Linked DNA regions of Homo sapiens: all the other regions are linked to region 3. Evidence: promoter capture Hi-C in 16 types of primary human blood cells and fetal thymus (Javierre and others, 2016). All regions are on one chromosome and are shown on one strand. Each heading gives the region's core, a stretch centred on a gene start or on the middle of the fragment in contact. The rest is flanking DNA. Distances are from core to core; before and after follow the strand shown. Region 1 has its middle 19 kb from the start of EED. Region 2 has its middle 5.9 kb from the start of MIR6755. Region 3 holds the start of SYTL2 (synaptotagmin like 2). Region 4 has its middle 12 kb from the start of LINC02695. Region 5 overlaps EED (embryonic ectoderm development).

The links. The method cuts DNA at HindIII sites, captures the fragments that hold promoters and counts their contacts. A CHiCAGO score of 5 or more calls a contact.
Region 1: a fragment that was not itself captured here is called in contact with the fragment with the promoter of SYTL2 in region 3 in 3 of 17 cell types (activated CD4 T cells, total CD4 T cells and naive CD4 T cells); the score reaches 7.7 in activated CD4 T cells.
Region 2: a fragment that was not itself captured here is called in contact with the fragment with the promoter of SYTL2 in region 3 in 7 of 17 cell types (activated CD4 T cells, non-activated CD4 T cells, total CD8 T cells and 4 more); the score reaches 9.8 in activated CD4 T cells.
Region 4: a fragment that was not itself captured here is called in contact with the fragment with the promoter of SYTL2 in region 3 in 5 of 17 cell types (activated CD4 T cells, non-activated CD4 T cells, total CD8 T cells and 2 more); the score reaches 8.1 in activated CD4 T cells.
Region 5: a contact is called between a fragment that was not itself captured here and the fragment with the promoter of SYTL2 in region 3, in 7 of 17 cell types (total CD4 T cells, activated CD4 T cells, non-activated CD4 T cells and 4 more). The highest score is 8.5, in total CD4 T cells.

The regions. Positions count from the first base shown.
Region 1 is chr11:86,223,886-86,228,233 of GRCh38, reverse strand. No RefSeq gene overlaps it. Among named protein-coding and RNA genes, the nearest start is that of EED, 19 kb to the left of the region's middle. The HindIII fragment of the contact is 7,356 bases long and covers 1-4,348 here.
Region 2 is chr11:86,281,911-86,286,469 of GRCh38, reverse strand. It overlaps a transcript of EED not described here and the pseudogene LOC100289518. Among named protein-coding and RNA genes, the nearest start is that of MIR6755, 5.9 kb to the right of the region's middle. The HindIII fragment of the contact is 3,432 bases long and covers 997-4,428 here.
Region 3 is chr11:85,809,517-85,814,227 of GRCh38, reverse strand. It overlaps SYTL2 (synaptotagmin like 2), which reads left to right and starts at 3,087. Exons shown (of 20, transcript NM_206927.4): 1 at 3,087-3,274. RefSeq lists a silencer at 2,949-3,128. The HindIII fragment of the contact is 7,624 bases long and covers 1-4,711 here.
Region 4 is chr11:86,203,381-86,207,938 of GRCh38, reverse strand. No RefSeq gene overlaps it. Among named protein-coding and RNA genes, the nearest start is that of LINC02695, 12 kb to the right of the region's middle. The HindIII fragment of the contact is 553 bases long and covers 1,406-1,958 here.
Region 5 is chr11:86,260,992-86,265,379 of GRCh38, reverse strand. It overlaps EED (embryonic ectoderm development), which reads right to left. Exons shown (of 12, transcript NM_003797.5): 7 at 1,117-1,208. Among named protein-coding and RNA genes, the nearest start is that of MIR6755, 15 kb to the left of the region's middle. The HindIII fragment of the contact is 6,340 bases long and covers 1-4,388 here.

The DNA of each region.
Region 1 (4,348 bases), core at 1,092-3,591, 410 kb before region 3:
TAAGAGCTTAAGTCACCAATCACATGAGACTCTGATAAGAATATCTGCCTTTGAAACCTTTATTATGCCAATGTAAGTTTTATTTCATTTTTGAATGTTCATCCAAGGCCTTGTCTTCCTTCCTTGGCTCCTTTTGCTTTGCCTCCCACCTAAAGGTCTCTTTTTCTAGAGTTCTCCCCACTTTTCCTTTTGTCCTATTAAGGTTATGTAATCCTCAGGTGGCCTGTTCCATTCTCAGTTTCACCCGTCATATACATACGTGGATGTCTGCTTTTGGTATGTAGCGCTCTTGTTGAGCTTTGGACCTATATATTCTACCGCCTATTGGATATAACCACCTGTAGGCCCCAGAAGGTCAAACATCCAAAACACAAGTAATCATCTTTCCCCCTGTACTTGTTCCTTTCTGATGTGGTGACTAATACTAAGTGAGCCAATCCAGAAACCTGGTATTCATCCTAGATTCTGCCCATCCAATCAGACCCCTGTCAGATCAGCCAAAGGTCTGTAGATGTTATCCCTTCACGGTTTTCTAACATCATATCGCCTCCTCTCCATTTCCATTGCTATCACCTCAGTTAAAATCCTCATAAATTATTTCTTGGATGACTTGAATAGTCCCTCTTCTGGCCACTCTCTGTCTTTACTGGTTCTCCTCTAATCTATTCTCATTGTAGTTATAGTAAACTTTCCATATAATCCTGTCATTCTGCTTAACACCAATCTGGCTCTGCATGTCTTTTAGGATAAGGTCAAATTCTTTATGTTATTAGATGAAGCCCTTTATGATCTTGTTAATTATTTTAAAATTATTATTATTATTATTAGAGACATGGTCTCATTCTGTCAATCAAGCTGGAGTGCAGTGGCACAATCATAGCTCACTATAACCTTGAACTCCTGGCCTCAAGTGATCCACCCACTTCGGCCTCCCAAAGTGCTGGGATTACAGGCATGAGCCTCCGCACCCAGCCTAATTTTTATACTTGATCTTAGTCAAAAGGCTGAGAAGCAATCCTGACCTAATTTTCTATTTAGTTTTTCTGCTGGGCATTCTGCCACATTTGCCCTCTCTCCACACAGTTCTTCTCTAGTAACAAACAAGTTCATTTCCAAATGGCTCTTTCTAAGTTTATTTGTTCGCAAGACCAAAAGAACTAAGAGATGTTTATGTTTGCAAGCCCTGGATGGAATTCCACCAGATAAGTTCTCTGAAGAGAACCAGCACACTTACTGTTTGTAATAGCAAAAGACTACAATATAGATCCATCAATGGGGTATTGATTATATAAGTTATAGTATATCTATAATGTAGTCTTTAAAATAAATAAGGTATATCTATATGAATTGATATAGAACAATCTCCAAAATATATTACATGGGAAAAAAGTTACAGAACAGTGTGTATAATGTGCCCTTATGTGTATGAAAGGAAATATTTAAATTCCTAATAAAGGTCACCTTTAGGCAGGGAACTGGGGGTATAGGAAAGAAGGAAAAGTTGGTTTTTACTGTGTGTCTTTTTTATACTATTTGAATTATAAACATTTATAATTATTGCTTTAAAAAATTAGTTTGCCTTCAACATCACAGACTAGACATGCTCTATTCTACTTCCTGTACAATCTCTCAGCTATCTTTTCTCATATACTAGTTTCCACCACGTTGAACATATGTTTAGGAAGGAAATCTCCCTCTTTGGTGATGGCTGCAAGTGTAGAAATCTCCTTGGCAGCTATGATGTCCTTAAACTACAGAACTTAAGTGTGGCTATGTAAAAAGTTCCATCAGGTGCATTTTTATCATGTTCAGTCCTCAAGTTCCTAAACAAATGATGTTTTTATCCAGAATTAACTTGATTCTGGCATCTGACATTAATATTCCTTCTCTAGCTGTACACCCATAAAGCCTTTCCTTCTGACAATTTTTTTATTCTTCTTGCTTATTATTGTTGATAGCATAGATATATGAGTGATTGCATGATCAGACATTTGTTCCTCAGAATTGTCATTATTCCTGAACAATTTATCCCATCACTACATACATTTATCATCTTCAATTTTTACATCTATTTTTGTTTTTAAACTAATTGCCTGTCTCTCCCTACTAACATTGTTAATACTCCAGATGCATTTGATCTTACTGAACATGAAAGATCAATGATAACATTTGTAATTTTTGTAAAACATTGAAAATTAAGAGCAAATCCATCAATTATACAAAGATCAAAGGCCATAAAGTTGTGTTCTCCAGGCTTCAGCCTGCATAGTTTTTTTTTGTTTGGCCCACATAACATTTTTTGTTTTATTTATCTATGTATTTAGGTTATTTTGTTTTTAAAATGTAACTTTTAAGTTCAGGAGTAAATGTGCAGGTTTGTTATACAAGTAAACTTCTTTCACGGGAGTTCGTTGTACAGATTATTTCATCAGCCAGGTATTAGGCCTAGTACCCATTAGTTATTTTTCCTGATCCTCTCCCTCCTCCTAACCTCCACCCTCCAATAGGCCCCAGTGTGTATTTTTTCCCTCTATGTAACCATTTATTCTCATCACTTAGCTCCCACTTGTAAGTGAGCGCACGTGGTATTTAGTTTTCTGTTCCTACATTAGTTTGCTAAGGATAATGGCCTCCAGCTCCATCCATGTTTCCTCAAAGGACATGATCTTGTTCTTTTTTATGGCTGCATAGTATTCCATTGTGTATATGTACCACATTTTCTTTATTCGGTCTACCAGTGATGGGCATTTAGGTTGATTCCATGCCTTTGCTATTGTCAATAGTGCTGCAATGAACATACATGTGCATGTGTCTTTATGACAGAATGATGTATATTTCTTTGGGTATATACCCAGTGATGGGATTGCTCTGTTGAATGGTATTTCTGTTTTTAGGTCTTTGAGGAATCACCACACTGTCTTCCACAATGGCTGAACTAATTTATCCTCCCATCAACAGTGTATAAGCATTCCTTTTCCTCCACAACCTCATTAGCATCTGTTATTTTTTGACTTTTTAATAATAGCTATTCTGGGTCAGGTGTGGTGGCTCATGCATGTAATCCCAGCACTTTGGGAGGCTAAGGCGAGTGGATCCCTTTAAGTCAGGAGTTCAAGATTAGCCTGCCAACATGGTGAAACCCCGTTTCTACTAAAAATACAAAAATTAGCTGGGCACAGTGGCATGCACCTGTAATCCCAGCTACTAGGGAAGCTGAAGCAGGAGAGTCACTTGAACCTGGGAGGCAGAGGTTGCAGTGAGCTGAGATCGCACCACTGCACTCTAGCCTGGGTGACAGAGTGAGACTCTGTCTTAAAAAAAAATAGAACCGTTCTGACTGGTGTGAGATGGTATCTCATTGTGGTTTTTATTTGCATTTCTCTAATGATCAGTGACGTTGAGTTTTTTAATGATTGTTGGCCACATATATGCCTTCTTTTGAAAAGTGCCTGTTCACGTTTTTTGCCCACTTTTTAATGGGCTGTTTGTTTTTTTCTTGTAAATTTAAGTTCCTTGTAGATGCTGGATATTATTAGACCTTTGTCAGGTGTATAGTTTGCAAAAATTTTCTTACATTCTGTAGGTTGTCTGTTTACTCTATTGATAGTTTCCTTTCCTGTGCAGAAGCTCTTTAATTAGATCCCTTTTGTCAATTTTTGCTTCTGTTGCAATTGCTTTTGGTGTCTTTATCATGAAACCTAAGTCTTTAATCCATCTTCAGTTGATTTTTCTACATGGTTTAAGGAAGGAGATCCAATTTCAGTCTTCTGTATATGGCTAGCCAGTTATCCCAGCACCATTTATTGAATAGGAGTCCGTTCCCCATTGTTTTTGTCAGCTTTGTCAAAGACTAGATAGTTGTAGGTGTGTGGCCTTATTTTTGGGTTCACTATGCTGTTCCATTGGTCTCTGTGTCTGTTTTTGTACCATTACCATAGTGTTTTGATTACTATAGCCCTCTAGTATAATTTGAAGTCAGGTAGAGTGACATTTCCAGCTTTCTTTTTTTGCTTAGGATTGCCTTGCCTATTTGGGCTCTTTTTGTTTCCATAGGAACTTTAAAATTGTTTTTTTCTAGTTCTGCAAGGAATGTCATTGGTAGTTTAATAGGAATAGCATTGAATCTATAAATTGCTTTGGGCAGTTTGGCCATTTTAATGATGTTGATTCTTCCTATCCATGAGCATGGATTTTTTTTTGATTGTGTCATCTCTGATTTCTTTGAGCAGTGTTTTGTAGTTCTCCTTGTAGAGATCTTTTACCTCCCTTAGCTGTATTTCTAGGTTGTGTGTGTGTGTGTGTGTGTGTGTGTGGCAATTGTGAATGGGATTGCATTCCTGATTTGGCT
Region 2 (4,559 bases), core at 1,463-3,962, 470 kb before region 3:
ACTGAGTTTCTACCAGCCTTTTTCCAGTATTTTGTAGTAGATGATATACTCAAAGCCACCTCTTATTCCTTTCTCACCCCATTTTTTTTCCTTCGAAACACCCCAAGACTTCATCCTATTTGTCATCTCAGCCAGGCACAGTGGCTCACGCCTGTAATCCCAGCACTTTGGGAGGCTGAGGCGGGCGGATCACTTGAGGCCAGGAGTTCCAGACCAGCCTGGCCAACATGGCGAAACCCCGTCTCTACTAACGATACCAAAAAAAAAAAAAATTAGCTGGCTGTGGTGGCACACATTTGTAATCCCAGCTACTCAGGAGGCTGAGACAGGAGAATTGCTTGAACCTGAGAGGTGGAGGCTGCAGTGAGCCGAGATTGCACCACTGCATTCCAGCCTGGGCGACAGAGCGAGACTCTGTCTCAAATAAAAGTGGAGTTACTTTTGTGCAGAGTTTCCACTCCCCTGGTAAGAACAAAATACTTGTGTGTATGAGACACAAATATCAATTCTGTAATTTCTAATTTCACATAAGAGGTAAAGGCTCTTATGTTTGTATTTAAAATGATCATTACACCAGGCCTGGTGGCTCACACCTGTAATCCCAGCACCTTGGGAGGCTGAGGCAGGTTGGATCACTTGAGGTCAGGAGTTCGAGACCATCCTGGCCAACATGGTGAAACCCTGTCTCTACTAAAAATACAAAAATTAGCTGGGCTTGGTGGCGCACGCCTGTAATCCCAGCTACTCAGGAGGCTGAGGCAGGAGAAGCTCTTGAAACTGGGAGGCGGAAGTTGCAGTGAGCTGAAATCACACCCCTGCACTCCAGCCCGGGCAACAAGAGCGAAACTCTGTCTCAAAAAAATAAAATGATCATTACACAATATGAAAATGAATAATAAAATTCATGCTAACAATTTTACTTTACTTAGAATGGCATTAAGTAGCAAAATTTAAAACCACGACCAGTTGAGAAATTGTTAAAGGATGGAAAAAGCTTTATAGTTAGTACCTTTAACCTAATTTTTCCTTTTAATTTTTTTTTCTTTTTTTGAGACAGGGTCTTGCTCTGTCACCCTGGCTGGATTGCAGTGGTGTGATCACAGCTCACTGCAGCCTCAGCCTCCTGGGCTCAAGTGATACTCCCACCTTAGCCTCCCTAGTAGCTGGGACTACAGGTGCACACTACTCCACCCAGCTAATTTTCAAATATTTTGTAGAGACAGCGTCTTGCTATGTTGCTTAGGGTGGTCTCAAACTCCTGGGCTCAAGCAGTCCTCCTGCCTTGGCCTCCCAAAGTGCTGCGATTACAGGCATGAACCACCGTGCCCAGCCTTTTCTGTTTTTTGGTTTTTCGTTTTTGAGACAGAGTCTCACTCTGTTGCCCAGGCTGGAGTGTGGTGGCACAATCTCAGCTCACCGCAACCTCTGCCTCACGGGCTCAAGTGATTCTCATGCTTCATCCTCCCAAGTAGCTGGGATTACAGGCACATGCCATCATGCCTAGCTAACTTTTGTATTTTTGGTAGAGACGAGGTTTCACCATGTTGGCCAGGCTGTCTCAAACTCCTGACCTCAGATGATCCGCCCACCTCAGCCTCCCAAAGTGCTGGGACTACAGGCATGAACCACCGCACCCGGCCCAAGGAGTTTGCCTTTTCATTTTGCACTGGGCCCTGGATATTACATAGCTGACCTTGTCTTCAGGACTAGGAAAAGGACCGATAGAATCCTGTGTTCCTTTTGAATTAATCTACATTTCTTTGACAACAAGCTGGACATAGGCTTCATGAAGTACAGGGGGCTCCAGGAATACTTTGTTCTGAAATCCAAGAATCCTCACTGTATCCTTTACCCAAGCTCTGGCATATGTCATCATGACTTTGGTTCCCTTGGGGCAAAGAGCATACTTTTGGCCTGAATGGACATTGAGTGTGGGGGTGCTTAACACCTCTGAACAGGTCTTGTCCACTTTTGAGTTGGAGGGCAGGTCAGCTAGGTGTGCACTTCCAAAAGAGCCCTCACTGTCCAAGGTGCAGTTGTAATCCAGGAAGGAAATGAGGTCCATGATGTGCCACTATGTGGAGAACTCACAGGTTATCACAACACTGAAACTCTTGATGAATGATTACTGGAGGAGGGAGTTTACATCGTGTCAGGCCCTACACTATGGAGTGTAGGGATGCCACCCTTGGTTCCCATTGTCCAAAAACAAAACCCAGGAACTTCCACATCTTACTGTCCTTCACATTGGTGTGGAAGGCTTTGAAGAATCTGCTGTCCTGATGAGCGCCTTGTCTCACCACAAAAGGCTACAACAGGGATATGGCATCAATTGGATCCTCATCCAGCTTGAAATAAACCGTGGAAGCTGCTTTTCCTCAGGACCCGATAGAGGGTGAAGTTCTGGGCTTGGTAGAGACTGAAGCAGACTGGCACATCAGTGGTCACGACTGCAGTCAAAGTGGGAGACACGATGGTAAGGAAGATGCCAGAACCACCTGCTATTTCTCCTAGCTCTATCATACATGCCCACATGGCACTCAAGTATCCTGGTAGCAAGTAAGATAATTACCTCTTCAAATATTTCCTTCACTTCATTCTCTTTTTTTTTTTTTTCTGGATCTCCAATTAAATATATTGTTAGATCTTTTCATTTTATCCTCTATATTTCTTAACCTCTCATATTCTCCATTTTCTTGATTCTCTGTGCCACATTCTGGTAATTTCTACAGATCACCTCCAATTCACTAATTTCTATTCAGCTGTGACTAATCTAACCCGTCCGTTGAATTTTTTACTTCAACAAATGTATTTTTCATTTGTAAAAGTTCTATTTGTTTCCCTCTCATATTCACCTCGTCAGTCATCATAGCCTCTTACTGTTAGCTTATTTTTATGACTGTTTAATTCTGACCCCTGTTACATGAAAGGCACTGCTCTAGGTGCTGGGGTTATAGCAGTGAAATAAAAACCCTGCTCTCATATAGACTACATCACAGTAGCAGAAGAAATACAATAAACCAAATAAGCAAATTACGCAGTATAGTAGGTGATAATTGAAATGGAGAGTAACAAAACAAGGAGAAAGTACAGAGAGGAAGGAGAGTTGCAATTTTAAAATAAGGTGGCTGTTTTATATTACCTGAAAATTGCAATATCTAAAGTCTTTGGTGGTCTATTTTTATTTATTTTTTTATTTTTTATTGTTTCAACCCTCAGCCATAGAGCTTGCTTCATTGTCAATCTGGTGATCTTTGATTATAAACTATTCGGTTGACTTAAATCTTCAACAACTTTAGGGGCCTCCTTAAGACTTATTTTGTTTGTTTTGCTTTAATAACTAGTATCCACTGAAGGGGTTATCAAACTATGGCTTGTGGACAGAATCTAGCCAACTGCCTGTTGTTTGTTGTTCTTTTTTTTCCCTCCTGCCTCAGCCTCCCAAGTAGCTGAGAATACAGGCATGCACCATCATGCCTGGCTAATTTTTTTTTGTATTTGTAGTAGAGGTGGGGTTTCACTATGTTGCCCCGGCTGGTCTTGAACTCCTGGGGTCAAGCAATCTGTCCACCTTAGCCTCTCAGAGTGCTGGGATTACAAGCATGAGCCACTATGCTCCACCACTGCCTGTTTTGGTAAGTAAAGTTTTATTGGTACACAGCCATACCCAGTTGTCTACGGCTGCTTTCGCCCTACAGCAGCAGAGTTGAATAGTTATGACGAGACTGTATGGCAAGGCCTAAAATATGTACTATCTAGCTCTTTACAGAAAAAACACCCTGATCTGCAGAGATAATATACAGGAAACTAGTAACAACAAAACTGGAATGGGTACTACCATATGTGTTGGGGCAAGTGTAATTTGGTACAAACTTAATAAGAAAGAAATATCCTATCTAATTATAAAATGAGCCTGAGAGTTACACAAAGACTTGTGTACTGGCCTGTTATTCAAAATACTACCTATAATAGCAAAAATCTGGAAGAAATGAACATGTCCAACAACAAGGCATTAAATAGATAATGGTACATTCATGGAAATGTATTAAAAGATATGCAAGCAGAATAATCTGTTAAGAATTACTGGGAATCTGAAAATGCAGCATATAAACAATATATTCAGACAATCACAATTCTTTAAACTTACACACACAAAATACATCCCATCACTAAAAGCAATTATTTCTGTGTACAAAAATTAAAGGTAGTTTTTACTTTTTTCTTTATACTTCTAAATAAACTGCATATATAATTTAGAAATTACTTTTTAAAGGGTGAGCATGGTATTGATATTTTGTTTAAAGTCTTTCTTGGAAATATAGAGTAAATTTTTACAGTTAAAATAAAGTCTGGGATGTGCTTCGAAACAATCTGGTGTAGATGTATAGATAAATCAAGATTGGCTATGTATTGATAATTGTTGAAGCTTGACTTGGTTCATAGTATTCACTACTCTCTTCACTCTTCTATATGTTTGAAACTTTCAAGTATAAAGTTAAGAAAAACAACCCTGTCTTGTCTTTTCGGAAACATAATACTCAACATATCAAAGCTGGTTT
Region 3 (4,711 bases), core at 1,838-4,337:
GTGCAGAGAGGCAGGCAGAGGCATGGAGATTATTCTTTCCAAAAACTATAATAACTCTCTTCCAACCATTATCACACCATTAGCTAACAGGAATTGAGATCTTACCTTGGGCCAGGCAATATGCTATATGTGTTATGTGTTATCTCCTTGGCATGGGGCAGGTAATATGACTACTTCTATTTTATAGAAGAACAATCGCTAACAGAAGTTAAGTGACTTAGGCTGGGTGCAGTGGCTCACGCCCGTAATCCCAACACTTAGAGATGCTGAGGCGGGCAGATCGCTTCAGCTCAAGAGGTCAACATTGCGAAACCACGTCTCTACTAAGAATACAATAATTAACTGGGCGTGGTGGTGTGTGCTTGTAGTCCCAGCTACCTGGAAGGCTGAGGTGGGAGGATGGCTTGAGCCTGGGAGGTTGAGGCTGCAGTGCGCTGTGTTTGTGCCACTGCCTGGGCAACAAAGTGAGACCCTGCCAAAAAAGGAAGGAAGGAAGGAAGGAAGGAAGGAAAGGAGGGAGGGAGGGAGGGAGGGAGGAGACTTGTCTAAAGTCACCCAGAGAAAGAAGGAAATTAAGTGACTTGTCCAAAGTCAACCAGCGAGTTCTGTGGTAGAGCCAGGAGATACACCAAAGTCTGTGCATTTAACCTTACACCATGCTATCCCTACCCTCTTGCCTTCCCCTTCAATGTCAACCTAGAATTCTCTAAAGTTTAAGTGTCACTTATATGTAAACCATTTTGAAGGGTTCCTATGGGATAAGTGGAACAGGCCATTGCTGACTTGATATGATCGTGTTAACCAAGGCTTTTTCAGTGCACTGTATGTGCAAGGCATCATGCTAAACATGTGCATCTTCTTTTAATCTTCACAGTAGGCCTGAGAGAGCAGTGCAATTATTTTCTCTCTAACAAATGAGCAAACTGAAGCACAGGGAGGTTGAGTAATTGGTCTAAGGTCTTATTAGAAATTGACATTTCTAACAGCATTTGGATCTTGGCCAAGAGCTCTAAGATTTAGTCTCTGAGCCATACAAGATTTAGATGAATTGGGAGCCATAACAAGACCCTGCCTTAAAATTTCTCCCCCACTTGCCTGCCCCACAACCTGAAGCAAGGATCCTGTGACCCTCTCTAGCATTTAGGCATTGCTATTTGTTTCCAGGGGACGAGTGATACTGGGAACAGCATGTATTTAGTTCCTTCAAAGTCCTATGCCAGATGATACAAGGCACCCAGAGGTGAGCAAGACCCAGTGCCTGCCCTCCAGAGCTAGAGAGGGGCAGGAAGGGGATAACCAAGGCAGGTGCAATCAACAATAAAAGTGAAGTACCAAAAGCATCTGAGGTCACGCTACTCCCCTGCCTAAAATCATTCGCCAACAGCCATCACCAACAGGACACAGCCTGCTTCCCTCAGCAAGGCAGGTACAGCCACTCCTCCAACATCTGCCCACCTACCTCCTTAGCTTCATCTCTGCCTCATTGTCCCAAATCCTGTGCAATAGCCGTGACATATGACAGGCATCTCCATGTCTCTGCCTGCCTCTCTGTGCCCAGTCTTCTGTCACCCCTTCAATCTGACCTAATTTGTAGCCCTCCTTCAAGACCTACCTTGGTCACATTTGTATTTTTTATTGTCCCCCTCCTTCAGCGTAGTGACTCTACAACACTTTGTCAACCTATTATAACACTTACCCTAAAATGAAATTATTTACAAATTTGTTTCTTCAAAGGCAAGACCAGTGGCTTATTCCTCTTTTGCATGTGGCATGCTCACCCAGCACAGGGACACACCAGGCTCTCAAAGGCTGAAGGAAGCCAGAATACACATCTCTGCACAGTGCCAGGACTCTTGGGCCAGGCTAGCAGCCTGCACTGGGCACTAACTGAAGCCCTTGGGGATAAGTATTTGTAAGTTTGGGAGAAGGAAGACCTTTGGAAGAACCAAAGGCAGACCTGGGCCACCCTCAGTTAAATGGACAACACTAGTCCAGGAAATGATAAGGAAAAAGGCTTTAAGGTTCATCTCCTTCAGAGGTTTGCCTGGGCTGGCCCCATCATGGGTAACTTGTAAAAAATAGGTCGTGATACAATTTTTAAATTATTTTATTTATTTTTTTGAGACAGAGTCTTGCTCTGTCACCCAGGATGGGGTGCAGTGGTGCGATCTTGGCTCACGGCAGCCTCCACCTCTCGGGTTAAAGCGATTCTCCTGCCTCAGCTTCCTAAGTAGTTGGGACTACGGGCGCTCGCCACCACACCCAGCTAATTTTTCTTTTTTCTTTTCTAATTAGAACAGAGTTTTGCTATGTTGGCCGGGCTGGTCCCGAACTCCTGACCTCGGGTTATCCACCTGCCTCGGCCTCCCATAATGCTGGGATTACAGGTGTGAGCCACCGCGCCCGACCACAATATTGTATTTACTGTATTGCATTGTCTGCCTCCCTGCCACACAGCGTCTTCCAGGAGCTTACCAGTCCTCTGTGCATACCCCAGTAAGTAGCTCAGGCAGTGCATGACGCCCTCACCTTTCTCTAGGTATTATTGTATTTTAAAGCATCACTTCATTTAGTCCTCTCAACAACTTTTTTCCCCCCTTCTTCTATTTCACATGTGAGGAAATTGACGTCCCGAGGGTTAAAGCAAGTTACCCCATGACCGGGCTCCATACCCTCCGCGCCCCTTTCCCTGCGCGGTGGCTGTCCCTTCTCGGAGTGCAGAGGCTCCTAGTGCTCCACACTCTCGGGCTCCAAGGCCCCCTAACGCGCCGTGATAAAAATAATAATAACAATAACAACAGTGCTGCTTTATTTGCACAGAAAACAGGTTGTTTCGGGGCAAGGTACACTTGAGAAGGAGGCTAGGAACCGGAGAGAAGCAGCAGGCGGGGGCGGAGGGCGAAGGGAGGGAAGGGGAGAGGGCAGGGGCTGGCAGGCGCTGTGTGCCGGGCGAGGAGGCCGGGGCGGGCCGGGGCGGGGAGCGGGCGAAGCGCCATTGGCCCGAGCACCCGGGACCGGCCCCACCGCACCGCCCGCCGGGGGCGGGGGTAGCGGGGAGGGACTCGCGCACGCCGCTCTGCGTTGACAGTGCCGGGCGACACCCGGGCCGTGCCGCCAGCGTCCGTCGGGAGAGTGAAGGCTCGCAACGCCTTGCCCGGGGGAAGGTAACGCGCCGCGCCCGGGGCTGCGCGGTTTGCACCGCCAGGCCGAGGGCTGGGGGCCAGAAGACAAGAGAGACGGCGAGGCGCGCTCCCTGCCCGGCAGCGACTCGGAGGTGCGCACTCGGGTTCCAGTCTCTACTTGGCCCACTCGCTGTGTTACCTCGGGCAACTTTGTTTCCCTCTCTTGGTCTCTGCTTCCTCCTCTGTTAAGTGAGGGAGGTGGTGTAGAATGTTGTTCCTTAGTCTAACCAGTTCTAAAATGGGAACTGCGTTTTGGCACGGGGAAAGCTCCTTTCCTCAGTTTCCCACCTACTCCAGAGCCACCTCCGCTGCCCAGGCGGCCAGGAAGCTGGGATGCCCGGGTAGGCGAGGGTTCTGCTGAGCTATCGCGTTTTCTAGGGCTTTCAGGGACTGACCTGGGCTTGGGGCTGGGTGCTGGGGAGACCTGGCTGCAGAGTAACTGCCCCCAGATTGCTCAGGTGCAGAAAGGTAGGAGCGTCAGCACCTGTTTACAGGTGGGGTGTTGGGAAGGGCCGGCCAGGGGATGATGATTTCTCCTTTGAAAATAAGACGTGTTTTGGAATTCTCTTCCATACCCACACCTCGTCCCACGGCGAGCTATAAACTACACGAGTGGGCTTTATCATCCTTTGAAGTGGAAAAGCGACTGTTTTTAGCGTCTAAGACACAGGGCTCCACCAGCATATAGGAAGTGGGTCTCTCTTTCTCTGCACCCATCCTGCCGCGTCTTCCCTTTCTTTCCTCCTCTCTTTATAAATCCCCTTTGACCTTGAGGGGCTCCACTTCCTGCCTTAATGAAAAGTTCTTCTTTTCATTTAGTGCTGGTTTGTGACCAGCAGCCTCCAGGGCTTTGGGCGCAGGGTTGAGATAGAAGCCTAGATAAGAACAGGCTATGAATCACCCTGTCAGCCCCCTGAGCCACACAGCCCGGCAGGGATGTGCAGAGGAAGCCCGGTGGGGCTTCAGACAGATAGACCCTGGAAGGTGGGGTGGATGCAAACTGCCATCCAGCTTCCCGTCCCCTTGTTGGCAGCCATTCCCCACCAGGATGGTGACCCCTGCTGTCTGCTGGATGGAGCAGCCAGATAGAGTAGGATGATTGAAAGGAGCTGAGGACTTGGCTGGATTTCTATGGAAGGTCTCCAGCATTTCCCTTCCCTCACTTTCCTCCACCCCTGAAGTTCTGCCCCTTCTCACCCTTAGTGTGGTATCCAGGTGAAATCAGATTGCAGAACCCATCAAGAGCAGCTAGGAAGGAGAAGAGGTGTGGGGACGGCAGCAGGGCAATGTTGACTGCTGTTTAGTGGGCACTTACTATGGGCCAGACACTTCTTTGTATGTAATATATCCTTAATTCTCACAAAGCCACATGAGGGGTGATGTACTATACCCTATTTTATAGGTGAGAAACAGGCTCAGAAAGATTGCTTCCTTTAGTCACTTAGCTAGGAAGTAGCATAGCTGGAATTCAAATCCAATCTCTGATTCTAAAACCTGTGTTCTTTACACTGTCTTTGTGCTCCTTAAGT
Region 4 (4,558 bases), core at 433-2,932, 400 kb before region 3:
GCTGGGATTACAGACGTGAACCACTGCACCCGACCCTTTGCCCATTTTTAAATCTGGTTATGTGTTTTCTTGTTATTGAGTTGTTTGAATTCCCTGCATAGTTTGAATACTAACCTCTTATCAGATATATGGCTTGCAAATACTTTCTTTCATTCTATAGGTTGTTTCTTGTCTTTTTTCTCCTGCACATAGCTTGTATTCCATAGATTGTTTCTTTTTCTATAGGAAGCTTTTTAGTTTGATGCACTCTCGTTTGTCTATTTTTGTTTTTGCTGCCTGTGCTTTTAGGGTCATAACCAAAAAAAGTTATTGTTGAGGACAACGTCAAGAAGCTTTTTTCCTATGTTTTCTTCTAGTAGTTCTACAGTTTCAGGTCTTATGTTTAAGTCTTGAATCCATTTTGAGTTGATTTTTTTTTTTGCATATGGTGTGAGACAAGGGTCCAGTTTTATTCTTTTGCATGTGGATATCCAATTGTCCCAATACCATTTATTGAATAGTCTGCCCTTCTCTCATTGTGTGCTCCTGGCACCTTTGTTAAAGATCAATTGACCATAAATGTGTGGAATTATTTCTGGACTCTCCATTCTGTTCTATTGGTCTATATGTCTGTTTTTAATGCCAGTACCATGCTATTTTAGATCACCTGTACTTCTATATGACCAGCCATAAATCAAATATCCCCATAACCCCCTCCTAAGTTTCAATGATTTCCTAGACTGGCCAACAGAACTCAGGAAGGCACTTTACTTATATTTGTATTTTAAAGGATACAAATGAAGAGCCAATGAGTGGTATAGGGACGAGGCCCAGGAAAGTCCCAAGCATAACAGCTTCTGTACCATGGAGCTGGGGTGTGCTACCCTCCCAGAATGCGGATGTGTTAACCAACTGGGAAGCTCTCTGAACTCCATTGCTTATGGGTTTTTTTTTTTTTTTTTTTTTTTTGAGAAAGAGTGTCGCTCTGTCGCCCAGGTTGGAGTGCAGTGGCGCAATCTCGGCTCACTGCAAGCTCCGCCTCCCGGGTTCACGCCATCCTCCTGGCTCAGCCTTCTGAGTAGCTGGGACTACAGGCGCCTGCCACCACGCCCGGCTAATTTTTTGTATTTTTAGTAGAGACGGGGTTTCACCGTGTTAGCCAGGATGGTTTCGATCTCCTGACCTCGTGATCCGCCCACCTCGGCCTCCCAAAGTGCTGGGATTACAGGCGTGAGCCACCGCGCCCGGCCAGCTTATGGGTTTTTATGCAAGTTTCATTAAGTAGACATGATTCATTAAATCATTGACCATTGGTGATTGAACTCAATCTCTACCCCCTCTCCCCTCCCCAGCAGAATGGGGATGAAAGTTCCAAGTTTCTAATCAAGACTTGGCCTTTTTGGCTTCCAGCCCCTATGCTGAAGCTTGCTAGGGGCCGTCAGCCACCAGACATCTAATTAGCATGCAAAATATAGTCTTACCCTTATCATTCCCAGGATTCCAAAATGTTTCGGGAGCTGTGTGCCAGGAATCTGGGACAAAGATAAGACAAAGATATTTACTTTTTATAATACCATAAAGGCCATTTTTGCTTGCTGCTTCTTGTTATCTGGTGATGTTGTTAAGCATGAAGAAATCATTCTAAAATCTGAGGCTGAAAGTTCATATCAATAACTAAAACTGTACAGATTTAAATGTGTGTTGACTTTAACTTAGAATGCACATCCATTCAGATGTTACATATGCACATTCACAAGGCACATTTGAAGCCTATGCTGTGAATGAAGAGTAGTCTGGGAGGCCCTGCAGCCCTTAGCAATTTGGTCTTTACTTGGAGTTTGTATTTCCTTCCTCGCTTTTTATATTACGTGGCCTTGTCTCATGATGGCACCATTGTGACATATTGTACCAGCTGGCCACACTCTGTTCAACTGTTGTTTGCTTAATGCATTCTCTCATGATAAACTGGACCCAAAGCTTACCTATTCTGCCCCCCACTCCAACTTTAGAATGGCAGGCAAATGATGAAGTTTCCCATGGGAAATCTCTTTTATTTCTTTTTAATATTTTATGTATGTATTTATTATTTAGAGACACTGTCTCTCTCTCTCTCTGTCACCCAGGCTGGAATGCAGTGGCGCAATCATAGCTCACTGCGGCCTAGAATTCCTGGGATCAAACGATCCTCCTGCTTCAGGCTCCCAAAGCGCTGGGATTACAGGTGTGAGCCACCACGCCTGACATCTGCAGGAAATTTTAACTTTATTTTCACCACCATTAGTTCAATTACGATCAAGAATTTACACGTACAAGTCTTGTAAGCAGCTTTGTATTGCTTAACTCCATTTTTGCAATCATCTTAGCTACTGTTTCTGTATTGATGTTACGCAAACGTATACCACTTTATTGGTAAACTGTTTGTTATTTTGTTTTTATATTTTAGTTGGTTCTACTTCTTTGGGTGTCTTTTCTATTGTCTTATTCCTTAATGTGTATGCTTTAAATGTGTATGTCTGAGATACTGTTAAAAAAAAAGATTAATTTTACATTTGGATGGCTGGTAAATAACATAATTTTAGTGGACATTTATTACAATAAATAAAAGAGAAGAGTAAATTCTTGTAGGTTTCTATGAAATCAGTTTTCTTGTAGCATTATACTCACCTAATATAGACTAAACAAAACATTCCTGTGCTTAACAATTAGTAGCAAGTCCATGCCATTCACTAAATATTTATTGAGGACTTTCTCTGGGCCAGACACATATGGGGTAGAGCTCACAGGACATAGCAAGATGCTGTGTGTCTAGAGTTAAAAGAGCAACAACAGGCCCTATCACTCTTCTGCTTAAAATACTTGGATAGCCTTAGGTCCAAATCAGTTCAAAATATTCCTTTACCATCCAGACACTGGCTCAAGGAGCTCAAAAAGGGAAAAGGTGGCTTTAAAATACTGAGCTGTGGCTGGGTGTGGTGGTTCATGCCTGTAATCCCAGCACTTTGGGATGCTGAAGAAGGTAGATCACCTGGGGCTAAGAGTTTGAGACCAGCCTGGCCAACATGGTGAAACCTCATCTCTACTAAAAATACAAAAAATTAGCTGGGTGTGGTGGTGCACACCTGTAGTCCCAGCTACTCGGGAGGCTGAGGCATGAGAATTTCTTGAACCCAAGAGGTGAAGGTTGCAGTGAGCTGAAATTGCGCCACTGCACTTCAGCCTGGGCAGCAGACTGAACACTCTGTCTGAACAACAGCAACAACAAAAAGATGCTAAGCTGTGCCTCTGACCCTGCATTTTTTCCTCTTTGCTATGTCTTAGTACTTTCTGGTCATGTTTCATATTAATTATTTCTGGTTTCCTGTCAGCTTTGAATTAATCCTAGCTTTGTCCCCTGGGCCCTCACTTTCAGATCCTCTCAGTTCTATTCCATGCATATTATGGGGAGTGTCTTACCCTACCCATAACCACACCCAGCTTCTGTAAGTATAATCCCAGAATGGCATCTGAGACCCCACTTGCCTGGCAGAGGAGTTTCGATGTGTTCCATAGCTTTGATGTTACTATTCCTTACTTTAAGACACAAGATGCTTTTAGATCTGACACATGTTCATTTCACTAGCTTGTCTCCTGCCATTCCTCAACTAGGATGTTATGGATCTGTCCTATTGAATTTCTTGAGCAGTTTCTGGAGCATGTAATTTTATTTCCCATCTCAGTTTTTGCACATGGCACATTTCCTTCTCATAAAAACCCTTGCTCCACCATCCCCAATTCTCCAGCTATCTCCTCCTCTTAACCTCAAAGCTAGTTTCAGGGGTCGCATCTCCCAAGAAGTTCCAATCTCACTTAGATGCTTCTCCTTTAGGCTACAGTGTTTATGGCACAGTAGCAATTGCTTTACTTATGTGTCTCCCCCCTGCTCCCAGATTTTGAAAGAGGTTACCACATTTTATTCGACTTTTTTTTTTTTTTTAAACAGAGTGTCACTCTGTCACCCAGGCTGGAGTGCAGTGGTGCCAGCTTGGCTCACTGCAATCTCTGCCTCCCGGGTTCAAGTGATTCTTATGCCTCAGCCTCCCAAGTAGCTGGGATTAAAGGTGGGTGCCACCACACTTTGTATTTTCAGTAGAGACAGGGTTTCGCCATGTTGCCCAGTCTGGTCTAGCATTCCTGAACTCAGGCCATCTGCCAGCCTTAGCCTCCCAAAGTGCTGGTACTGCAGGCATGAGCCACCATGCCCAACCTTTTATTAGACTTTCTATCCTATCCCTAGCCTATGATAGGGACTCATTAAGTGACTATTGAGTAAATCAGTGAATGAATGAATTAATGAATAAGTGAATATATTGCCTAATACGTCTACTTAAAGCCTCTTAGAAAGCAGGTGTGGTATGAATTGTAAACAAACAATAGTACTACAATCTTAATATGGAGGGTGAAAAATAGAAAGGTCTTCAACAGATAATATTTTTTTCTATTTATATATGTTCCTTTTTTTCTAGATATGAGCAAAAGTCTGAGTGCCAATTGCTGAATCAAGATTTACCCAAATGTTACCAAAACCAATGGCAAGTTAGTC
Region 5 (4,388 bases), core at 771-3,270, 450 kb before region 3:
GTATTACACAGAAGAGCTACATACTGTCTCCTGCTCTCATTCTAAGAAATAACAGTAGAGAGTTCTATTGAAGGAGTATATTTTCCTTACTAACCTAGATACTATATGTTAATCCAGCCTTTGCATTAATTATGAGCACCATTTTATAAGAGCCTAAGAACTTTAGGCTTGATGTTTATTGAATTCACAGTTGTGGTACTTCTAATTACCTCACTGTCAACAGCAACAAGACATCCTTCGAGACAATACCACTAATTTGGAGTTATTAATAAAGAACAGTTCACTTGGCTTTTACACACATAAAGCCAGACGTAGAATGCTACTGCAACTTTTAGGAAATCCAAGTTGACAAGGTATTCGAAGGAAGGTATGATTCTCACAAAGGAATCCAAACTTCAACATAGGAATATTTTAGTACCTTCAACTAAAATGTTACATGCTGTAAAATATGGTGCCCCTTTACATAGTTTAATGGAAAACAACCTAAGAGATGTGAAATTACTACAGGAATCAAATGAGCTAAATATGGAACATAAGCAAAAATAATGTTAAAATCTGAAACCTAACTAAAAACACTTGTATAATGGACCAATGGATTACAATACATCAATATAAAGGTGGTATTTATCTTTAAACTGGTCTTGTATTATACCACGCCACCCAAAGAGAATGGCTAGAAATAAGTTACCTAAAACAGTGTGAGCACAATAAAACACTTCCAAATAGCAAAAAACGTTATGTTTCAACTTCAAACAAAAGATGGAAAAGCACTTTAATGGCTACATAGTTTAATTTTTTTCTTTAATAACTGCGAAATGGCAAAACAAACATTAACTTAGTGATTTTAGATTAAAAGGAAAGGAGCAAGATCATACTGCTCTCATAAGACTCCAGGGATTGGTATACAGTGCAAGTAATTTAAAAAATAAATAAATAAATATAGTCTTTACTTGTTTTATTCCTTCATCTGGAGATTAAAATCTTCTATGTCAAATGTAAGTGAATGTCTGCCTGACAGGCTACATGAAACACACTTTCTTATAAGGAAACAGTTCCATGGAGACTGTTCACAGCTATGTAAACCTGAAAGTCATTGCCCTGCAGTTTCCAACTTACAGCACTTAGAACTTCATCTCTGTGCCCTTCTACGCCTCCAAATATTGCCACCAGAGTGTCCGTCTGGATATTCCATAATCGTAAAGCATGATCTAGTATAAACATACAAAAATTAGGCGAATGTTTTTTATTTACTGTGAACTTTCAACATCTTGTGAAAGAAAAACTACTAAAGTCTAGATGTAAGTTATGCACAGTAAAGCCTAAAAATGGAATCCATATTACATAGCAACTTAAAATGTTTACATCAGATGTAGAATTAGCTAGGTAAGTGCTATAGTTTGAATAGGCCCCCCCAAAAGCATGTGCTAGAAACTCAATCCCCAATGCAATAGTGGTGTGAGCTGGGGCCTAATGGGAGGTATTTAGGTCATGGGGGCTCCATCCTCACAAATGGATTAATACTGATTATAAAAGGGCCTGAGGCTATAAATTCAATCTCTTGCTCCCTCACACCCTCTCCTGCCCTTTTGCTGAGACGATTCAGCATGAAGGCTCTCACCAGATGCCGGCACCATGTTCTTGGACTTCCCAGTCTCCAGAAACAGGAGCCAAATAAATTTTTGTTCATTATAAATCACCCAGTCAGGTACGGTGGCTCATGCTTGTAACCCCAGCACTTCAGAAGGCCAAGATGGGAGGACTGCTTAAGCCCAGGAGTTTGAGACTAGCCCTAGCAATATAGCAAGACCCTGTCTCAACAAAAAATTTAAAAATTAGTGAAGCCTGAGCAATAGAAAAGAAATTAATTAATCCATCAGTCAGTCACCTAGTCTGTGGTATTGTGTTATAGCAGCACAAAATGGACTCAGACAGAATGTTGGTACTCAGAAACGGGACTATTGCTATAAATACCTGAAAATGTGGAAATGACTTTGGAACTGGGTAACGAGGAGAGGCTGGAAGAATCTGGAGGAGCAGGCTAGAAAAAGCCTATATTGGTGTGAGTGGAGCATTGAGGGTAATTCCAGTGAGGGCTGAAAAGAAGACAAGAGCTTCAGGCAGAGCCTTTATCTTCTTAAGGATTACTTAAGTGGTTGTGATCAGAATGTTGGTAGAACAATGTTGGTCTCAGACAGAATGAGGTTGGTCTCATTCAGTGAGGTCTCAGACAGAAATGAGAAGTTATTGGAAAATGGAGTAAGAGCTATCCCTGTTGGCAGGGTGTGATGGTTCATGCCTGTAATCCCAGCACTTTGAGATTGAGGCAGGAGGATCACTTGAGGCCAGGAATTCAAGACCAGCCGGGGTAACATAGTGAGACCCAATCCCTACAGAAAATAAATTAGCCAGGTGTGGTGGCGTGTACCTGCAGTTCTAGCTACTTAGGGGACTGAGGCAAGAGGATCAATTGAGCCTAGGAGTTTTGGGCTGCAGTGAGCTATGATCATGCCACTGCACTGCCTGGGTGACAGAGACCAACCCTGTCTTTAAAAGAAAAAAAAAAAAAGCCAGGCCAGGTGTGGTAGCTCATGCCTGTAATTCCAGCAGCATGGGAGGCTGAGGTGGGTGGACACTTGAGCTCAGGAATTCGAGACTAGCCTGGGCAACATGGTGAAACTCCATCTCTACAAAAAATACAAAAACTAGCGGGGTGTGGTGGCATGTGCCTGTAGTCCCAGCTACTCGGGAGGCTGAAGTGGAAGGATCACTGGCATGGTGCCGGCATCCGGTGAGGGCCTTCATGCTGAATCGTCTCACAGCAAAAGGGAAGGAGAGGGTGTGAGGGAGCAGAGGTTGTGCCACTGCACTCCAGCCTGGGTGACAAGAATGAGACCTTGCCTCAAAAAAATAAATTAAATAAATAAATAAAAGCCATCCTTGCAATACAGTTGTGAAGAACTTAGCAGGACTGTGTCCATGCCCTAGGACTTTGTGGAAGGCAGAAGTTAAGAGCAATGAATCCAATACCTGGCAGAAGAAATATCTGAGCATCAAAGCATTCACAGTGATGCATGGCTTCTTCTGGCTGCTTATCATAAAATGAGAAATGATCTAAAGGTGAAATTTGTAATTAAAAAGGAAAGCAAAACAGAAACATTTATAAACTCTCAGCCTGGCCATGTAAAGAAAAAAAAAGCAGGCTGGGTGTGGTGGCTCACACCTGTAATCCCAACACTTTCGAAGGCTGAGGTGGAAGGATCATTTGAGCCCAGAAGTTCAAGACCAGCCTGGGCAACATAGCAAGTCCTTGTCTCTTCAAAAAATATATAAAATAAAAAAGCATGTTTGAGAGAGAATATTAAGGATGTAGCTAAGTGACTAATTGCTAAGGAGATTAATAGGGAAGAGAAGGCAGGTTCTATTCACCAAGACAATGGGATAATGACCACAAAGGCATTTCAGAGATCTTCAAGACATAGCTAAGACCTTGAGGGCAAGGTTTCCAGAGTAGCACCCATGGGACCTCTACATTCACTGTCCAGGGCCACTTCAGCACTTTGCTCCCCCTATTCCAAGGCAGTGCTCTTTGGTCACCCCATAGCTTGAAGGGGCTCAAGTATGGCTCAGGCCATAGCTTCTGAAGGTACAAGCAGCAAATCTTGGCAGTGTCCATGTGGTGTTAAGTCTGCAGATGCAGAGAATGCAGGAACTGTGGAGGCACGGCTTCCTCTCTAGATTTCAAAAGACATCACAAAGAGCCTGGGGCTCCAGGCAGAAACTTTTCAGAAGGGCAGAGCCACACAGCAGTTCCTACTACAGCAACACCTGGTGGAGCCATGGGGAAAAAGCCATCCCCCAAATCCCAGAACTGCTGAGCTACCAGGGCACACCACCAGCCTGCAAGAGCTGCAGGCACCCGACTCCAACTCATAAGATGCTATGTGGGCTGCACGTGGCAAACCCATAAAGATGGGGCTGCCCAAGGCCTCTGGGGCCCAAACTCCACACCCAGCATGCCCAGAAGGCAAAACATGGAGCCAAGGAAGATTATTCTGGTGCCTTGGATTTAATCTTGTTTGTTCTGTTGAGTTTTGGATTTACTTGGGACCAGTTACCCTTATTCTTGCCTATCTCTCCTTTTTGGAAGGGACTGTCTATCCTATGCTTATCCTACCACTGTATTTTGAAAATAGATAAGATGCCTGATTTCCCAGACCCACAGATGGAGAATTTACCTCAGCAGGAATCCTGCCTTGAGTCTCACCCATATCTGATTGAGGATTTGAATTTTGGGGGCTAGAGGCAGAATGCTACAGCTTAAATGAACCCCCGAAAAAGCAGGTTGGGAAACTTAATCCCAATGCAGCAGTGTTGGGAGATGAGACCTA